7 separate regions of the Homo sapiens genome follow, and all the other regions are linked to region 1. The links are contacts of gene promoters, found by promoter capture Hi-C in blood cells and fetal thymus (Javierre and others, 2016). All regions are on one chromosome and are shown on one strand. The core of a region is centred on a gene start or on the middle of the fragment in contact, and the rest is flanking DNA. Distances in the headings are between cores, read along the strand shown. Region 1 holds the start of USP38 (ubiquitin specific peptidase 38). Region 2 overlaps NDUFC1 (NADH:ubiquinone oxidoreductase subunit C1). Region 3 has its middle 5.3 kb from the start of SETD7. Region 4 overlaps TMEM184C (transmembrane protein 184C). Region 5 holds the start of RAB33B (RAB33B, member RAS oncogene family). Region 6 holds the start of ELF2 (E74 like ETS transcription factor 2). Region 7 overlaps ELF2 (E74 like ETS transcription factor 2).

The links. The method cuts DNA at HindIII sites, captures the fragments that hold promoters and counts their contacts. A CHiCAGO score of 5 or more calls a contact.
Region 2: a contact is called between a fragment that was not itself captured here and the fragment with the promoter of USP38 in region 1, in 1 of 17 cell types (non-activated CD4 T cells). The highest score is 8.0, in non-activated CD4 T cells.
Region 3: a fragment that was not itself captured here is called in contact with the fragment with the promoter of USP38 in region 1 in 1 of 17 cell types (total B cells); the score reaches 10.4 in total B cells.
Region 4: a contact is called between a fragment that was not itself captured here and the fragment with the promoter of USP38 in region 1, in 1 of 17 cell types (naive CD8 T cells). The highest score is 5.2, in naive CD8 T cells.
Region 5: a fragment that was not itself captured here is called in contact with the fragment with the promoter of USP38 in region 1 in 2 of 17 cell types (activated CD4 T cells and total B cells); the score reaches 7.2 in activated CD4 T cells.
Region 6: a contact is called between the fragment with the promoter of ELF2 here and the fragment with the promoter of USP38 in region 1, in 1 of 17 cell types (non-activated CD4 T cells). The highest score is 6.0, in non-activated CD4 T cells.
Region 7: a contact is called between a fragment that was not itself captured here and the fragment with the promoter of USP38 in region 1, in 1 of 17 cell types (non-activated CD4 T cells). The highest score is 5.7, in non-activated CD4 T cells.

The regions. Positions count from the first base shown.
Region 1 is chr4:143,183,530-143,186,229 of GRCh38, reverse strand. It overlaps USP38 (ubiquitin specific peptidase 38), which reads right to left and starts at 1,313. Exons shown (of 10, transcript NM_032557.6): 1 at 98-1,313. The coding sequence starts at 779. USP38-DT (USP38 divergent transcript) reads left to right here and starts at 1,369. Exons shown (of 4, transcript NR_185979.1): 1 at 1,369-1,722. RefSeq lists silencers at 922-1,171, 1,392-1,441 and enhancers at 493-1,377, 1,378-2,263. The HindIII fragment of the contact is 4,447 bases long and covers 1-2,700 here.
Region 2 is chr4:139,293,511-139,296,210 of GRCh38, reverse strand. NDUFC1 (NADH:ubiquinone oxidoreductase subunit C1) reads left to right here. Exons shown (of 6, transcript NM_001184989.2): 3 at 251-479; 4 at 1,065-1,168. The coding sequence starts at 413. Among named protein-coding and RNA genes, the nearest start is that of NAA15, 6.6 kb to the left of the region's middle. RefSeq lists an enhancer at 57-620. The HindIII fragment of the contact is 2,778 bases long and covers 1-2,700 here.
Region 3 is chr4:139,560,178-139,562,877 of GRCh38, reverse strand. No RefSeq gene overlaps it. Among named protein-coding and RNA genes, the nearest start is that of SETD7, 5.3 kb to the right of the region's middle. The HindIII fragment of the contact is 1,271 bases long and covers 684-1,954 here.
Region 4 is chr4:147,625,723-147,628,422 of GRCh38, reverse strand. It overlaps TMEM184C (transmembrane protein 184C), which reads right to left. Exons shown (of 10, transcript NM_018241.3): 5 at 1-62. Among named protein-coding and RNA genes, the nearest start is that of TMEM184C, 9.7 kb to the right of the region's middle. The HindIII fragment of the contact is 4,389 bases long and covers 1-2,700 here.
Region 5 is chr4:139,452,467-139,455,166 of GRCh38, reverse strand. It overlaps RAB33B (RAB33B, member RAS oncogene family), which reads right to left and starts at 1,046. Exons shown (of 2, transcript NM_031296.3): 1 at 723-1,046. The coding sequence starts at 971. It overlaps RAB33B-AS1 (RAB33B antisense RNA 1), which reads left to right and starts at 1,126. Exons shown (of 1, transcript NR_159964.1): 1 at 1,126-2,700. RefSeq lists enhancers at 749-798, 1,419-1,758 and a silencer at 1,019-1,348. The HindIII fragment of the contact is 749 bases long and covers 939-1,687 here.
Region 6 is chr4:139,175,811-139,178,534 of GRCh38, reverse strand. ELF2 (E74 like ETS transcription factor 2) reads left to right here and starts at 1,317. Exons shown (of 10, transcript NM_001331036.3): 1 at 1,317-1,568. LOC105379412 (a long non-coding RNA gene) reads right to left here and starts at 2,380. Exons shown (of 4, transcript XR_007058273.1): 1 at 2,187-2,380. RefSeq lists silencers at 347-726, 737-1,696 and an enhancer at 2,297-2,346. The HindIII fragment of the contact is 9,266 bases long and covers 1-2,724 here.
Region 7 is chr4:139,080,019-139,082,772 of GRCh38, reverse strand. All of the region lies in intron 4 of ELF2 (E74 like ETS transcription factor 2), which reads left to right. Among named protein-coding and RNA genes, the nearest start is that of NOCT, 66 kb to the right of the region's middle. The HindIII fragment of the contact is 209 bases long and covers 1,325-1,533 here.

The sequences.
Region 1 (2,700 bases), core at 64-2,563:
TTTTTAGGGCAGGAGGAAAACATGGTGTGAATGTGTGTGTGCAAGAGAGACATATACTGATTTTTTATGAGATATTCTGAAAGATAATGACCCTTACCTGTGGAAGAGATGCTTGCAAAAACTTCTTGCAGGGAAGGCAGTAGTGTGGCAGGCTCGGCCTTCCAGATGTTCTGCAGCAAGTTACTCACTTTTGTCACCTGGGAGACATATTCCCGCAGCTCTCTTTCCTGGGTGGACACGCACTGGAAATGGCCTATCGTTCGAACCAGCTGTTGACAGAACGTGATGGACAATTTCCCCTTGGGGATGCATTGCACAAAGTCGGTCAGAAGGTCGCTCAGTCGGGCACAGAGCTGCGGCTCCGGCCTCTCACACACCATCCGTAACACCTCTACCTGCAGGAGGCTAAAGAGATCCAGCACCGACGGACAGCTCATAATCAGCTTCAGGCCGTTGTGAATGTAGTCCAGGATGGCTACATCCTTCCTGTCCAGAGAGTGGTAGCCCTGATGAAGGAGGCCCAACACGAAGGTCTTGTTGAAGAAGGACTCGAACTCTGGCCGGTGGTATCGTGCGTAGGCCTCCAGCACCTGGTGCCCCACCTGCCGCTGGAAAGGGTCCTGGCCCTCCAGGATGAGCCGGGTCGTCAGGTCAAACATGGCCTCGCACTGCGCCTCGTCTAGCCAGTGCTCCGCCGATTCCACCACCTTCCGCACAATCACCCGCTTGAGGGGCAGGGGATGCGAGGAACTCACAAGGCCCTCCAGGATCTTGTCCATTGTCGCCACGCTGCAAGGCCAGGGCCAGGGGATAAGGAGCGGGTGGCGGCAGCCCCGAGGTGGGGCAGGAGAGCCCCGGGGCGGAGATGAACTTGGAGCGCCGCAGCAGCAGCGCGACGGGCCACGGCCACCGCCGCCTCAGCAGCCACATTTATGGCGCAGGGAGACCCATCCAAGCCGGGGCGGGAGCTAGCGAGCCTGGAGAGCCTAAGAACCGACACCTGCGGCTGGCCTAAGGCGCCAGAGGCCCGTACTCCGCCGCCGCCCCGGGCCCTCGATCCCACTCAGCATCAGCGCCGAGGGGCCTGTCGGGCCCCCCAGCGGCGTCGGCGGGAGCTCAGGGCCCGGGGCTGCTAGCCGGCGGGTGGAGGAAGCACGCCTCCGAGTTCCGGGTCAGGTGTGGGCGTCCAGTCTCCAGCAGGTCGTGAGAAGAAGCCGGTCCTGGGCTGAGTCAGGAGGCGCTGTCACGGAGAGTGCTGGGATCAGCCGGGGAGAAGAGACCGAAGCGACACCCTTTGACCCGGATTTTGAAGTGCCGGCAAACAGGAAGTGAAGGACCTAAGAACCTCCGGAAGGACCGCCCCTCCGCCCCTCTGCCCCTCCGCCCCTCCGCCTGTCCGCCTCTCTCCTTCTCCCTTGTTCCCTCTCTCCCTCCCTGCTCCCCCACCTCCCTCCCGAGTCGTAGACTCCCTTCCCCCCGGCGCTGGGAGTCTCCTTCCCGCCCCGCCGCGCAGGTGCGGCGACGGCCGCGTCACTGGAGAGTGTGTCGAGTCACAGGCGGTCTTCCGCGCGGAGCGTCCCCGGCGGACGCTGCGCAGATGGCTGCGACTGTAGGATTCTTGCCGGCTAGTCTTCGTCGGTTCCGCCTGCGTCAGGTTACTCGTGAAAACTCGAATAAGTGCTATCGATGTGAAATCCGAGGAAAAGAGCATTTGGGGGAAAAGTAAGGAAAACTCAAAACTCGGATTGAGAAGTCTGCCTTGGCTCATTAATCAAGAATTGCGCTTGCGCGCCTAAATGTGACTGCCTTTATCCTGCGATGTCGGTATTGAAGTAAGAGCAATACTGGCGGCGTACCTAGCATTTAGCGACCATCAGTATCAGTAGCAGGCCTCTAGCAAAGAACCAGTTAGTGAGCTTTGTACCATATCGAAAATTATAAGCCGTCCAAAAAAGTGTGAGAGTAAGGAAAATGGCAGATTAGAATCAAAATATTTTTATACCTGTGTCATACAAGGGTACTTTGAAAATAGAAAACCAGGTGGAAATACCACAAAACTTATTGTATATGTTGACACCGAAGATGGTTTACAATAGGGAAGAACAGGTGCAATCATGCTTGTTCTGTTTCATGCCAAATTCCGAAGATTCACAGTAAGAATTTAATCAGAGGTCTTTATATTGGAAAATATTGCCTAACTGTAGCCTGCTTCAGGCTTGGTTAATATAGTTGTGAAACTAGACATTAAGGCCCTGTAATACAGACAAAACTTTAAAGAAATAGGTCATTTAAAATGTCCCGTAGAAAAATGAACAAAATTCTGTTACTTCAGTTTGCTAAATAGTGTTTTGTTTTTTTACCAAGTTACAAACACGATTACACTAATATATTCACACGTCGATTATGGTAGTCTTAAGAAGAGCAGTTTAGAGGAGACAGGAGCTTGAGTAAAAGGGAACTTAAGACCAAGTTGACTCGTAGGAAGATACGGAAGATAAAAGAGAATTGAGGTAATTAATCTATCAGTCATGCTAGAGACAGGAATGATTTTTCCAATAGGAGGTGAAGGTACACAGATGTTTGTCTTTACTGGGAATAATGCCACAGTGGAAGACAAAGGTAATATAGAAAATAAAATATTAAGAAGGAATTAAGTATTAAGAAGGATCGTGGATTTGAGGTGGAGTGGAGGAAATTTGG
Region 2 (2,700 bases), core at 93-2,592, 3.9 Mb after region 1:
TTGAAGATGAAATAAGACAATGAATGTAAACCATATGATACATTAATGCACCGTGCCTGGACCACAGAATTCAATCCAAATGCTAGTTATTATTCAGCACGACACTTTTCTTTCTTCTGGCTCATGTAGGAAAATTTTAATAAACCTCTTGATGAATAGCCGTAGAGATGGGGTGAAAAACCCCCAGAGGACAGAGAATAGGTAAACTCTTTTTTCTTTTAATTATTTTCTTCCTAATTCCACTGTATAGACAGAAGGCTGAGGCCGGGGTGCTAGAGAACCTTGCCGTGCTGGAATTCACGTTGACGCCCCCACGGAGCTCTGCTGCAGAGCCCTCGAGTCCCGCACTTCCGGCCGCCAGGTGGCGCTGGTTCTGTTGCCAACTCGGAGAGACTGAGCTGGGCCACGCAAGATGGCGCCGTCCGCCTTGCTGCGTCCCCTTTCCCGGCTGCTGGCCCCCGCCAGGCTCCCGAGCGGCCGTGAGTATCCTCCTCGTGCAGGCCGACTCGACCCTCAGATTACCCCTCCTAAGGCGGACCCAGCCCACGGGTGCAGGAGGCGGCAGCGGCCCGGGTTCGTCCTGCAGTGACCTTCGCCGGCAGACGACCCAAGGCCCAGCCCACGCCTGTCCCCTACGCAGGGCTCTCTGCTCCCCATCACCCGCCTCTAGCACTTATCCAAGTTCAACCTGACCACTCTTGGCCTTTGTAAATGGACTTTGGGTCCTTGCCTTCCCCACCTCTGTACGTTAGGTCCCGTAAACCGGGAGAGGAGACACCCTCCCCGGGGCGCCCCTTACATGACCACTCCCGAGTCGTCTGAGGGTCCGCAAGCCCTTAAACGAGGCTTTGAAAGCCTCGGACAGGACAGGTGCGTCCTGTCTAACTCGCCAGTGGCCCTGGGCGAGGTACTTGATCTCTTTGAACCTCTATTTCCTTGGCTGTTTAAGTGGGAGATGGGGGAGTTGAAGGGAGAATTAAATGCGATAATACGCACGTAAATGTTAGGGTTTTTTCCCTACAAGGCAGTAAGTTACAAATTTACAGACCCTCTTCCCCTTTCAGCTTCAGTGCGATCAAAGTTCTACGTGCGAGAGCCGCCGAATGCCAAACCTGACTGGCTGAAAGTTGGGTTCACCTTGGGCACCACTGTCTTCTTGTGGATCTATGTAAGTACTTTACTCCCGGATGTCGTGAGACTACACCAGCGTGGTAAGGGAATGACATAACATTGCGAGATTGAATGGTGCTGTTATATGTTGTATGGCAGTGAAACTCTCATAACAGTAGGATATTTATATAATCGCTGATACGTATTTTTCCATAAGAGAAATCCCAAGGACTAAAAAGAAATTAAGATTTCAGCAACATTGAAAAAGTATGATGGGACTAAAATTTCTGTTATTGTTCCTTAACATGGTTTTGTAAGGAATGGCAGTTTTACTAAATAGTAATTATACTTTTTTTTTTTTTTTTTGAGATGGAGTCTCACTCTGTCTCCCAGGCTGGAGTGCAGTGGCGTGATCTCGGCTCACTGAAAGCTCTGCCTCGCGGGTTCACGCCATTCTCCTGCCTCAGCCTCCCAAGTAGCTAGGACTACAGGCGCCCGCCACCACGCCCGGCTAATTTTTGTATTGTTGGTAGAGACGGGGTTTCACCGTATTAGCCAGGATGGTCTCGATCTCCTGACCTATTGATCCGCCCGCCTCGGCCTCCCAAAGTGTTCTGATTACAGGCGTGAGCCACCACGCCCGGCAATAGTAATTATACTTTATTTCTTAATGAGAATTGAGGCTAATTGGAGTTTTATGAAGGTACCTTTTTCAGATGCTGTAAGGACAAACCAGCAGTGTGCAAGTTGTACAAATTGAATCCCAGTAGACTTCCATTAGGTTTTAATCAATGTTTGTATAAATACATTGTTGGAAATTGTACATAGTGTGTAGCGACCTTTTTAAAAAAATTTTCAGGCCGGACGTGGTGGCTCACACCTGTAATCCCAGCACTTTGGGAGGCCAAGGTGGGCGGATCACGAGGTCAAGAGATCCAGACCATCCTGGCTAACACAGTGAAACCTCGTCTCTACCAAAAATACAAAAAAAATTAGCCAGGTGTAGCGAAGGGCGCCTGTAGTCCCAGCTGTTCAGGAGGCTGAGACAGCAGAATGGTGTGAACCCGGGAGGTGGAGCTTGCAGTGAGCCGAGATCGTGCTACCGCACTCCAGCCTGGGAGATACAGCGAGACTCTGTCTCAAAAAAAAAAAAAAAAAAAAAAAAAAAAATTCACACCACATGCTTTACACATAAACTTGCGTTTAATCATTTCAACAACACTACGTGGCACCTACTATTGTTGACCCGTTACAGATAAGAAACACTTGGAGAAACTAGTTTGCTGAACCCAGTTCTCCTGACTTCAGAGGCCACACTATCCTAGAAAAGACTGTGAAACACTGCCTCTGTTGGGATAAAATTTCTTTTTAAAGTTAAAGTATCTGCTATATTAATATTTAAAATTTTGTTTTTTATCTAATGGGTTTGGGACTTCCTCCACTGTCCCCCAGCTCTAAGATATTTTAAATTTTCTTGTTGAAGTGGTTCAGATTTTTGACTTGGAAAGGGGTGAGAGATTTTGAGTCACTTACAACTTAATAGTAACTCATCTTTTTGAATAATGTTGCTTATAATGAATTTTATACATT
Region 3 (2,700 bases), core at 70-2,569, 3.6 Mb after region 1:
GGTCCCAGAAACACTCTAATCAACCTGTCTTTGTTTGTGACTGAGTGAAGAGGACCACATGGGTATTTTCATTTCTGGATATTGGATTCAAAGCCAGACAGTCCCATTTGGAAAATGAAGAGGACACTTTGCCCTCCATCTATGTTATAGTAGATGGAATCTGCATCCTCAAGGTGGCGTTCCGTTGCCTAAGCTATCATAGCAAAGAGCCAACCTCTCCACTCCTGCACAGAATAGAAATATCTTTGAGCTGAGTGCCCAGGAAAACTTGGATGACTGTATCACAGGACAGGCCACGTGGGTCTTAATATGTCTCTGGTCTCTTTCTCAGAAATCATGGTAGCCTAAGAAGGTTGGCCCACTGTTGATGGCTTGTGAAGCAGAAATGAGGTGCTTTCCCAAGAACTTGAGAACCAGGTTGCTCTCAGAAAGTTTGACTACCAAAATCTGCACACTCAATGGTTTTGACTAGAATTCAGTGGGCATAAACCAAGAGAGTGACTCAATTTGTGACTGAGAAGTTTGAGGATTACCTCAAATTCCCATTAAAGTGACTTGGCTGTAATGCCAGGAAGATAGAGAATGTCATTATGACTTAGAAAGTGTAAATCTGCCTAATGGGCTGTATAGGACGCTGTGTGGAGAATCAGGTTTGGAGAAACTAGAGCACGGAGAAAGAAGCTTGAAGCCTCAGAAGCCATAGGGCCCATCTAAGCAGAGGTGAGTGGGATGGGTGGGCAGCCTCATTCTTTCAGAACACTGTATCAGAGTATTTGTCTTGTGGACCACACAACTAATGTCCTTCATTCTACTCCAGATAACTAAGCAAACTTTTGGATGGAATTTGTCTTCTCAAGTGCATTTATTTATATAGAGAGATCTTTTGCCCTGACAGTGTGAGTATTCTGATCTGTCCATCATAATTCAGGCATACATCTCAGTCTCTCGGGGTCTAGTTAATGTGAGTCCACTTGAGGAAGGTCAAGAGCTGACCCTTGATGAATGTTATGACATTTGTGGTAAATAGGTCAGCTGGAAATACTCCTCTGCCCATCCTGGATATTGTAGTGTCAAAAGAGTATACCATGTACCTGCCCTCTGCAATGTCTACTTTTGCAGAGGACCAATTGCAGGACTCAATAATCTTAATTTTAGCCTAGTAAAGTAATTTTTCAAAAACAATTAGAGAAAATAATATCTATGAAAACACATTTGGTTTTGGTGGCGGTTTGTCTTTATTTTTCAAGTTTCTGCAATCCTATTGTTTTTCTAAAGTAATTTCTAAAACAGATGCCCCTTTGAAAACTATTTCCAATTTTTCTTTGTGTGTGTGTGTGTGTGTGTGAGGGTTTTTTTTGTTGTTGTTTGTTTTTTTGAGATGGAGTCTCACTCCGTGGCCCAGGCTGGAGTGCAGTGCAGTGATGCCATCTCGGCTCATTGCAGCCTCCGCCTCCCAGGTTCAAGTGATTCTCCTTCCTCAGCCTCCCAAGTAGCTGGGACTACAGGCATGCACCACCAGTTTTTGTATTTTTGTAATTTTTGTATTTTTAGTAGAGACAGGGTTTCACCATGTTGGCCAGGCTGGTCATGAACTCCTGACCTCAGGTGATCCACCTGCCTCTGTCTCCCAAAGCGCTGGAATTACAGGCGTGACCCACCGTGCCTGGCCTCATTTTTTTTTTTTCAATCATTTCACTCAGCAGCTTCACTAGGCCCAAGCCTGACATAAGAGTTTTCATATCCCATAATGCAAAAAACCCCAAGAACTCTGTGAAGGAACAATATTGGCCCAGAGTCGACCCAAACAGGGAGATCTGGGCTGCATCTTCCCTCCCCTCCCCGCCCCAGAAAGTCTAAATTTAGTTTACTGGATACCCTGCAATGACATTAACATGTCATTGCAACATTAACATGTTGCAAAAACAAGAATCAAGCAAAAGAGAAAGAGGAAGCTTAATGTGGCATGAGGTATTTTAATACCATGGCAACTGTGGTGTCTTCTCTATTATTTAATTCACTTCCTTAGGTCAGGTTATTCTGCCCTCTCTCTCTTGCACTTCCTGTTGCTGTAATCAAATCAGGTCACCCTGAATCTGTAAGTCTTCTTCCTGACTGCACTCATGTCTATTTCCAGCAGAATGAATTTTCTCCATTTCTTTCTTTGCTCCCTGGACCTTTATTTGGTGCCCTTGATGTCCCTGCTCTTCCCAGTGCTCCACAAGCTGCAAACGCTTCCCTTTCATCCCCATCTCCTCCCCCACCCGTCTCCTCCTCGCTGCTCCTCTCCCAGCCCCTCCCTCCAGCTTCTGCAGTTGTCACTAACACAGTTAGCCACTTGATTAGTGACTCAGTGATTCAGAACCCAGGAACCTTGGTTCTCCTAAAACTTCCATGCTTCCCTCCCTAGAGTCAAGATAAAGGTTCTCCCCTCACCTGCCTGCCCAGATAGAGCCATTAACGTGAGAGGACTTGAGTATTCAGTTTGTTGGAGTTGCCCTGGCTTCTTCCCATTTCCTTTTTATGTGCCTTTTCCTGGGGCTTCTCAGGCTCTATTTACCTTTTCTCCAGAAAAGGTGGACAGAGAAGGTTTGAGCTTCGAATTTATGTAGCCCAACTCTTCATTTACAGATGGGAAAACGAAGGCCCCCCCCCCGGCCCCCGCAGAACTGAATTGCCCAGTTGCTTGGCTAGTTCTTGGTG
Region 4 (2,700 bases), core at 114-2,613, 4.4 Mb before region 1:
TGGTGAAAGGTCTGACAACTGTGTACTGTAATACACCTAGTTTGCACCTAAACAGCAATACTCTGCAAAAGAAAAAGAACTTAGAATTTCAACTACTCATTTAAATAGCATCAGATTTTCCCCAAAGCCTCCAAATTAAAATCACTTTGATGAATGATACCATATTTACAGTTAATTCTTTCAATGTAGTCATCCTTAATAGCAGTGGCAGAAGAATGTGGATGGCAGGAAACAAATTATCTAAATACCTTTTTTATTTTTTGAGATATAGGATCTTATTCTGTTGCCCAGGGTGGAGTGCAGTGGTGTGAACATGGCTTACTGCAGCCTTGACCTTCTGTGCTCAAGTGATCCTCCCACCTCAGCCTCCTGAGTAGCTGGAACTATATCTGCATACCACCACACCTGGCTAATTTATTTTCTGTAGACATGGGGTCTCACTATGTTGCCCAGGCTACTCTTGACCTCCTGGGCTCAAGTAATCCTCCCACCTCAGCCTCCTGAGTAGCTGGAACTGTATCTGCATACCACCACACCTGGCTAATTTATTTTCTGTAGACATGGGGTCTCACTATGTTGCCCAGGCTACTCTTGACCTCCTGGGCTCAAGTGATCCTCCCACCTCAGCCTCCTGAGTAGCTGGAACTATATCTGCATACCACCACACCTGGCTAATTTATTTTCTATAGACATGGGAGTCTCACTATGTTGCCCAGGCTACTCTTGACCTCCTGGGCTCAAGTGATCCTCCTGAGTAGCTGGGACTGTAGGTGTGTGCCCCCACACCCAGCTATTTTTAAATTTTCTGTAGAGATGTGGTTTCACTGTGTTGCCCAGGCTAGTCTCAAACTCCTGGGCTCAAGCCATCCTCACGCCTGTAATCCCAGCACTGTGGGAGGCCGAGGCAGGTGGATCACTTGAGAGCAGCCTGGCCAACATGGCAAAACTCTGTCTCTACAAAAAAAATAACAAAATTTAGCCGGGCACGCCTGTAATCCCAGCTACTTGGGAGGCTGAGGCATGAGAATTGCTTGAATATGGGAGGTGGAGGTTGCAATGAGCTGAGATCACGCCACTGTATTCTAGCCTGGGTGACAGAGCAAGACCATCTCAAAAAAAAAACACAGTAATCTTTGAAAATGAAATTTAGATACCGGTTCTCTGCATAATATCCTATAAATGGTTTCTCATTTGACAAAGACTCTCATTTAGACAAACTTTAGACAAGCCTCTGATGCCTCTTTTCAACTTGGCTTCATCCTTGGGCCTTGTCCTTGTCCTGTGTCAGTCAATCTAAAAGAATCTTGCTAAGTCATTCCCCAGCCCCCTTTGATATCTGATCACCTTTGACATCCGATCAAATTCCTCAGCACCCACCTTGGATGACTAAGGCCTTGGCCTGCCTTTAGCAAGAATTCTGTTCAGTTTAGTGAGAATCCTCCTAGCCCTGATGTCCCCTCTTCGTAATTCTGCATTCGCTGACCCCCTCAACATGCTCTAGCTATAAATGCCCATTTGTCCTTGTTGCCTTCAGAGTTGAGCACAATCTGTCTCCCTTGATAACCAATCTATATTAATTTGTCATTACTATTCTCTCATGGCCTCCTGTCCTTCTTCCTTCATTGCATTTCCTGAAATAACTAACTATATATTTGTGTCTTAATTCCTAACTCTCCTAACCAAACTAAGTTCCATGAGGTCTATGTCTGTTCTGTGCACTAAGGTATTTCTTTATACTAGCACGTACTTGGTGCTCAACATATATTTGTCAAATGAACACATTAGTAGCTTATTTTTTTAAAAAGCCAGGTAGCTCCCTGTCATTTCAAGGGTGTAAATAGAGACAAAATTTGTCAGGACGTTGTACAAATGGTCCTGTACTGCATAGGAGGCAATGCACCCATTCTTATGTTGTATGTCTACACTGATCACTCTACCTCCATTTACCTTGGCTTGTAACTTCCACCTTATTCCTCATTTATTAGTGAAACTGCCTTTGCAAAATTATGACTGAGACAGTGAAAGAGATAACTTAAACCGACTCCATCTTGTGTCTAACCTCCAAGCTGTCCTTGTTCATTCCTGGGCGTAGGCTGAACTAACTTTGAGAGAAACTTAGTTTATAGTTTCTCCCAAAGCTATAGAAATAGCCCTGCCCCAAAGCAAACCTCCTTGCCTGGGGACTAGATTGCCTTTGTAGGACTAACATTAGCCATAAGATTAGAAATTATGGTTTAGGAGTCATGCAGCTGGAGGCTACAAGATTCTGGCCCTCCCTAAACTGCTCCTAAGATCAGTGCTTGTGATATTTTGCAGACCCTGCATTTGTTGAATCAGCTGGCACCACCCAGATCAATAAACGGGCTCATCTCACCTTGTGGCCCCCACCCAGGAACTGACTCAGTATAAGTGGACAGCTTTGACTCCCTATGATTTCACCTCTCTCCAATCAGCACTCATGGCTCACTGGCTTCCCCCTACCCAGCAAATTATCCTTAAAACTCTGCTCCCCGAATGCCTAGGGAGACTGATTTGAGTAATAATAAAACTCCTGTCTCCCGCACAGCTGGCTCTGTCTGAATTACTCTTTATCTTTTGCAATTCCCGTCTTGATGAATCGGTTCTGTCTAGGTGGCTGGCAAAGTGAACCCCTTGGGCGGTTGCATTAGTGGACATGTCCTATTGATTTTTCAGTTGCAT
Region 5 (2,700 bases), core at 64-2,563, 3.7 Mb after region 1:
CCTTCTCCACTATTACTGTCACTCAGTGTCCCCAGTCCCAGGGACCAAAAATAACGACTTAAAGGGAATAAAGAATTGGGCGTGTGTCTGAGGTGGCATCATGAGAAATGCTTTTGGCAACCTGAGTAGGAACTATCACATATAGAATGTTTCTGCAGGAAAATAGATTTTTCTAAAATCAGTATCATAAAGAAACTACTACAGCAAAACTGTATGCAAGAGAATACCTAAGTACTTCCTCAAAGGCAATAGGCTTTACTTCCACAACATCTAAGGCACTGCTCGAATGAATGTTTAATAACTATTACTGATTAAATGAATTTTCCATTCTCGCGCAATTTCACTGTTTTTCCTCCGTTCATATTTGACTGACTCCCAGCACACGACACACACAGTAAATGGGTCGGTAGATAAGCCCTACACTCCTGAACTCAAAGTGTGGTCCACGGACTAGCTGCACCTGCATCATCAGCGAGATTATTAAATCATAGCCTGCATTTTCAAAAACAAGATCCCCAGGTAAATCGCATGCACAATGAAGTCTGAGAAACGCTGCCTTAGAAGTTTGCAGTATTGCAATCCTTCCAATCCCCAACTCCAATCTCATCAGCGTGAGAAAAAAATGGAGCGCACACACACCGTGCACACGGCCAGCGACCAGCCCACGGTGGGGTTGGGACACCTGTCACCCTGTCCTCCCCAACAGTTCCCCATCCGCTCACCTTGATGCGCTCCCCATCAATCTCCACCGCTCGTTCTCGGAAATCCACCCCTATCGTGGCCTCGGTGCGGTCGGGGAAGCGGCCAGCGCAGAAGCGGTAGGTCAGGCATGTCTTGCCCACATTGGAGTCGCCGATCACGATTATCTTGAAGATGCGGGAGCGGGCAGGAGGCAAAAACCCTGAGGCCCCTGACACTGCCCCGCTGGACGAAAAGCTTGCCTCGAGCGACGACTCCATCTCCTCAGCCATTCCCCCGACCCGCCCCAAACTGAGGCGGAGGAAAGGAGACACAGAAAGGCTGAGAGATTACGCCACCGCAAGAGCGCGCGCCCAGCCGGCCAGTTCGGCTGCGCAACTTCCCAGGAGCCACCGCCCACCAGCCCCGAGCGCGCCTGCGCACCTTCCCGCCCCGCCCTTGCCCGCACAGGTGTGGCACCCGCCCGCCCCGCCGCACGGAGCCGCCTGCCCGCGGCCACACGCCAGGCGTCACTCGGGCTGGCGCCGGTCTACCTAGGCAGGCGTGGGACCTGTCGGGGGCTTCACGGCAGCGCGGAAGGCCAGCCTGCAGAGAGGCTGGGCCCAGCGCCCTGACTGACCCAGCCCCGCCACGTCCAAGGTTCCCGCCCTCTGGAGGAAGCCGCGCAATCACTCCGGGGGCGGGGAGAGACAGACAACTGAGAGGAAGGAGGTACCACGGGCACTCTCTCGCGAGAGGGCCGCAGAGCCGCCTTTGACGGGGGCGTGTACCTGGAGAGCAACGGTAAGGACGGAGCCGACGGCTCCGGCGTCGGGTCGGTTCCGGCATCGACGTATCGTTTGGTCGCCCCAGAGAGGAGACAGGTTTCTTCAGCTTGCCGCTGAGGATGTGGCATCGGCTGCGCTCACCGCCGCCGCCTCTGTGAACTGCGGGAGTTGGGACAGCGGCCAGGGCTAGATGGGTGGGACGCGAGTCCTCGCCGAAAGCTTGCCCTGTGCGGGGCGCACTTGGAGGCGAGCTCTGGGCCGTGGCGAGTTTTGCAGCCTAAGGTCTTGGCAGGCGCATTGCTGTGGGCTGCCGGAGAGCAGGCTGGAGTTCGAGACCGCCCACCGGAGAGCAGGCGAGAGTTCGAGGCCTAGGTACAGCGCATTTCGCTAGGCATCCCCAAGAATATCCGCGTGATCCTTGTGGCCAGAGTTTGTTGAGCTAATATCCCCAGCCCAAACAGTAGAGCACATCACATGTCGGCCACCTGGGAGCGTTGAACCTGGTAGTTACTAGGCGCCCCTGGTGGAAATAAAACTCATTATGCCCTAGTTATGTCTTAGTGCCTGGGTGACGATGATGTAGCGGTTAAAGATTAACTGAGCGCACTTAGAGGTTGTCTTTGTCTACCTAAGGAAAATATCAATAGATTAAACCCCCAACCTTAAAGAATCTCCGTGAATTTTTCTGAGGAAACGTGCAATATTGTCATACAAAAGGCCCCAAATATGCAAACATTGCTTTTTGTTAAAAGTTTGTTTTGTTTTGCAGTGACATCTGTTTGAGCAGATGAATATGCCATTGGGAAAGTCAAGGACTGTCGGAGAGGAGGACATGGCAGACCTTAACTAAAGTGAGGGGGACAGTAGAGCACTAAAAGTTCTAGGAAAGGAGATGAACTGCTTATTCCATCAGATGAAAATATAGTCAGAACAGATGAGTAGTAGAACTTAAACATGCCCGGAGTTGCCAGGAATTTGCAAAAGCCTTGATATAATTCCTGTTGCTGTAGAAAGACTTTCTACAGTCACTAATATATCAAGTTATGTTCACTAGAAAAAAAGTTTACTTAGTTTATAGAAATGGGCTGAAAAATCCTAATTACTTATCTGTGAGGTTATTTTCATGAAGGTTAATCATCCAGAAACTATTAGAGAGCCTCGGAATATATTTCTTCTAATCTGCTCTACCTATCCCATTCAAAGGAGGGAATCTGAAGATTTAAGGACAAAGAGC
Region 6 (2,724 bases), core at 68-2,567, 4.0 Mb after region 1:
TAGACTGAGGCGTTTGTATGCATTAACTGTGCCTACAAAGCCCATTAAAGAGACGCTCCTACACAGGGCAACCCACGGCACCGTGTCATTGGCTTTTGTGCACTTGAAGGCGCGTGAGAGTGCCCCGCTCGAAGGCTCCCCTTTGTGTGAAAGTGTGGAAACCAGAAGCGTGCAGCCACTGCTGGGTTTTCGTTTTCGAATTCGCAGGCACTTGGGCCAAAATACTCCCACACCAGAACACTCTCTCATTCTCGCACCAACAACACTCAGACTTGAGTTACTTCTCCGTTGCGGACCGCGCAAGGAGCGACAATGGCTAGGTGCGAGTGCCCGCAGCTCCCCGGGCAGCTCCAAGGGGCCGCCCGCCGCGCTCCGCAGCTGCGCGCTGGGCCCAGCCACCCGACAGCCAGCAAACGCCGGCACCAACCGCCGCGCGGCCGGGCTGTTGGGCGGGTGGTAATTTCTGGGAATGGGGCGGGGTCGCGGGTGTACTACGCCCGGCTTTTGCTAGCGGGGAGGAGGAGCTGGCGGCGCCGAGGGGCGCGAGGCTGGCGGGGCGGTGCGCCACGTGCGTCACCGGCCGGGGCGGGGCCGGCGTCGCGCTCCTGCCCGAACCCCCACCTTTCACTAAGCCAAGGCTGAGGAGTGGGAACTGGAAAGACCGGGCTAGGAGTTTTTGCAAAACCTCGCCCCCCTGTAACTGTCAGACTGCCCGACTGTGGGGCCGTCTCCGGAGAAGGGCGAGAGTCCTGAGTTGGGGATGCGGTGACGGCGGGGCCTGCGGGGGCCCTGAGTGGCGAGGGTGTGTGCGTGCGGTCCCGGCCGGCGGGGGAAAGCCGGCGGGCGCTGCAGGTGCACGCGCGGCCCCATCGGCCTCACACGCCTGCCCCGTGCGGCAGAGCCCCCTGCACCAATCCGGGGCTGGAGTGGAGAGCGAGATCGGGGAGCCCTGGGCAAGGAGCCGGACAAGTGACGAGCGTCTTTACCTGGGAAGGCGGGTTTGGGAGAAGTTGGGCGAGGAGAAGAGGGCGGGATTCAAGACAGCAAAAGAAGCAGGTTCGGCGGGCTGGTGGGGGCCCGAGGGCGGCGGGGCCCCGCGGGGTATAAATAGCCGGCCCGCGTTTGACAGGCGCTGCGGTGACTGGCGGTGCCGCCCCCGCCCCCCCGCCGCGTGGGGAGGGGAGGAGCACTCTGAGCTGGCGGGGAGGGGGAGGCGGACTCCAGTGTCCTGGTGGAGGCGGCAGGAGGCCGAGGGGGAGGAGCCGAGGCGGGGGGTGGAGGGAGGGGGCCGGGAGCGGAGCGGGGCGGGGGCAACCATTGCTCCCAGCGCCAAGCTCTGTGTCGCCGCCGTCGCCTAGGCGGTTGGGGGTCGGTGGGGCGGCGCGGGCGGGGGTCGCTGCGCGGGGCGGCGAGCCTCTGTTTTGTCTCCTTCTCTCCCTGTGGAGCGGCTCGGGCTGCTGGGGAGGCCCCGGCTCCCTCCGGACGCTCGGCCAACGGCGGCGGCTAGTCCGCGGCCCTGCTGAGAGGGAAAAGGACGCCGCGGTCTTCCCAGGCGTCGCGGAGAGCAGGTAAGAGCGCGGGCAGCCGAGGCTGGTGAGAGGGAGCGCGAAGGGCGCGGCGATAAAGCCTGGCTGTCCCGACTGCCGCCGCCTCCCTCCGCGCCCCCGCCCCGCGCTTGTGTTGTTTGCTTCGGGGTTTGCGGAGGGGTTTTCCGGCGGCTGCGGCGGTGACACCGGCCGGGGGCTGGGGGAAGGGGGCTGAGTGTCCCCAGGCAACGGTCGCGGAGCGGGACTTGGAGAAAGGGGAAGGCGCGCTGCGCGCCTGCCCGCGGGGAGCGCGGGGCGCGGGGCAGGGCTGAGGGAAGAGGTTACAGACCCCGGCGGGGGGGATGGGCCGAGCGCAGCTGGTCTCTCCGTGTTTACATCTCTGCGCGAGTCACCTCTGCCGAGAAGCGGACTGAACTGACCCGCCTCATCCCGCGGGGAGGCCAGGGCGGGGGTCCGGCTCCGGAGGAAGCGCGTCCTGGGAGGGTTTGTGTAGGGCGGGAGTCTGCGGCCGGCGCCGGGGCTGGGCGGCGAGCTCGGGGCGGGACCTGGGAGGCTCCGGCCGCTCTGGGTGGCGGGCAGGCGGGGGGGGGCGCTGGACACCAGTTTCCTTCCCTGTCGTGCCTTATCGCCGCCGCTTACCTTTCCTTCCCGGCGCTGCTAGCTTGCACGACAGGTTGTACTCGGCAGTTCTTTTATTCTCGCTCTCCACGCCGGCACCGTGCTGCCATCTCCCCCTATTCCCCGGGAGGTAGGGAGGCTTTGCTCGGATCGGAATCTGTTTCTTAAGCAAAACAAAAACGGGCTCGTAACAGGCACGTCCAGTGACCGCCTTCTGGATCCTCGCGAAGCTGGTCCTCAGGGACCGCGCGACGGGATGGTCTAGGGGCGCGGAAGGAGGACAGGGAGGGCTCTGCCAGGGCTGGATGCTGACTCTACCCCAGGAGCTTTGTGATCAGGGTAGCCGAGCCCTCTCTTCTGCTCCATTTGGGCATTTTTATTCCATGTCCATAAAGGACTCAAAAAATATTCCGTGACACCAAGAATAATCCAGATCGCACAGTTTCTAATCTTTTTCCCTCTGCCAGCATCCTGGATGGACTCTTTCTAGGAGGCAGATTCGCTGCAGAATAGCCTTTAAGTTTAGTACTTCATTAAATGAGGAAGAGGGGGACACGTC
Region 7 (2,754 bases), core at 180-2,679, 4.1 Mb after region 1:
ATTGCCATGGATGGGAAGTGGACGATGAGAAATACTCAGGGAACAGTAATTCTGTAAAAGATCTTAACAGTCTTCCATCCATTGTTTTTAGGTAAGGGACTTGAAATTAGTAGTTTGCTTGGCAAAACTCTGTGACTCAGTTCGATGGGGGAAATCATGAACACATGTATCAAAATTTAACGGAAGCGCTCTAGGTTCAAAGTCTGAAATAATATGTATGTATTGAGTACAACACAGTGGTGACCAGTCTTTTATTCTATAAAATGTAAAAATATGTGTTTCAGAGGTTCCAAAGGAAAATGCAGTTTACTGAGTAGTGATTAAAACACATCTGTTTGACAGTTGCTTTCTGGTCAGAACAAGAACTTAAGTTTAGTAAGAGAGCACAATGAGAACTTGATTCCTTTGTATATATTGTCCATTACTACAATATGAATTAAGGGATGGAATTTTTGGCTTTATATTATTGGTACTAACGATACGTGAAGTTGTTGGGTCAATGATATTTCTGTGAATATTGAATATGTACAGTTCAAGAGATGTTGTTTCCAGTGGCTGCGAACACACGGAAAGAACCTTAGAATGCCTTTGCATCAAAACTTTGAAAAATACTGTAAAGGTAGGAGGGCTTCACTTTGCCATTGGAAACTATTTTTTCGTAAGCTTTTGGAATTACCGGTGAAACTGAATATGGCCTGTAGGTATTCTCCTTGGAGTATATATGTGTGTATATAAAAGACTGTCTTTGGTTTGAAAAGACAAAAGTTTTGTCTTTTGATAAGGGGTTTTAAAAAGTGCTGTTTTCCAGCTCTACTGCATTTCTGTACTATATACGAATCTTAAAGTTTATGATAATAATGTTCTGTAAAGAATATGTTTTACATACAGTTATTTTCAAGTTATGTCACCAATTATGTTCATGTAATCTGAAGCTCCCTTACAAGCCTTATTTTAGAAGGAAACTTGAGAGAGGTTTGCTCTTTTACCCAAGGTTTATTCAGTGTGTTAAAAGTTAGGGAGGAAAGATGGCCCAGAAGATTAGGAATCATGATTCTAAATTTTTATTGCTGCCAATTTTCAATAGCATTGGTAGGATAATGTTTCTAAAGTTTGTATTTGTGTAATGGACAGAATACCTTTTTATCTCCTTGAGGGAGGTCATCAGGTGTGACAGAGAATTCTTCCTCACAAAGATTTTACAGTCTGGGGAGACAGGTGAAAATCTATATAATGTATAAATGTAAAAAATAGTTCCAGTGATTGCTATAATGGGTTGATGATTAGTGTAGAATGATATTTATACAACTTCTAGAGGAGATAAGCTTTAGGTTAATATTTTCAGCATAACATGTTTCTAAGCAAGTATATAACACTTAATATTATCACTGTCGCTACATGTTAAGGTACATGTTAAGCTCGAATATACTTTTGCTTTTCTTCCTTTTGAGGTGTTAAGTATCACATGTGCATTCCTTTAGCTATAAACATTTATGCTGCCAGAGGAGTTTGAGTAAAGGATGAAATAAATAAGCTTATTTATTAAAACTCACTGTCATTTTACAAAGTATGTTTGTAGTAAAGACTCGACGTACTTTAAAATTTCATGGACAATATGATGTATGAGAACGAGCCTTGACCCTGAAGAGTTGAGGATCTATATCTAGCTGTCACTAAACTAGCTAGTGACTTAACATCTTTAGGGCTTCATTTTTCTCTAAGAAGACAGGGTTGACTAGATGATTGCTAATGACTTTTAAAGCTCTAAAATAAGTGGCTTGGAAATACTTAATGGAAAGGTAGGGCTTCTCCTTGGGTTTTTTTTTTTTTTTCTAATATTACACCATGTGAATGAATATGTCTATAAGTTCGTTATGTAATTGGTAGGTTAACTTCTTTTATCCAGTCTTTGAAAATAAAAATGTGTGCCAAATTGGAACTTGAGGCTCTTTATATGTTTAAGTCTGTAATATAGTCTAATTAATAATTTAGGCTCATTTCTAGTGTATATAGCTTAATATAGGAAAAACAAATGTCTAGCATTGTTACTTTCCTAATATTTATGTTAAAGTATTGTGTATGAACAGTCTGGATTTTCTGGAAGATTTCTGCCTTATTCTCAAGTATACCTTTCTTGACTTTTTCCTTTATTTGTCTTTTCTTATTTTATTTTATTTTTACATTTGCGAAATAAGGTAATCAGAAGTTTTGGTCAACAATGCAGTTATTAAATGAAGGTGAAATTTTTCTGGAAATTTAGCCTAAATATTTTCACTGACAGAAAACAAATCTATTTTATTAAAGTTCATTATGAAATTGAAAATCTCATTTCTGATTTACTATAAATTGGAATATGTAGTCTCAATCTTGAAAAGATCAAATTGAAAAAAAATTAGCAGTATGAAAAGAAGTTAAAAGCAGTATGTGAATAGATACATTAAAATGAAACTCAAGGAATGACACTAGTTTTCTTTTTAAAAAGCTCATTTGAAAATGAATTTAAGAAATTACCCTTCACAATTCATTGCAGCATTGGTACTAAAATTCATGTAAAAACTGAGTTACATGGTCACATCAGTCAGTGTGTAAATAGCCAATCAGAATCATTCAACATAAAACTATTTTAGAAACAAATTTGGTTGGTGGAGAAGGGCAGGCAGCAGAATGTTCTTGATAACTATTTAAAATAATTCCTCATGTTTGATAATTGTTTAAAATGATTCCTTGTGTCATCTATAGCAAAATGTTCAAAAGGAT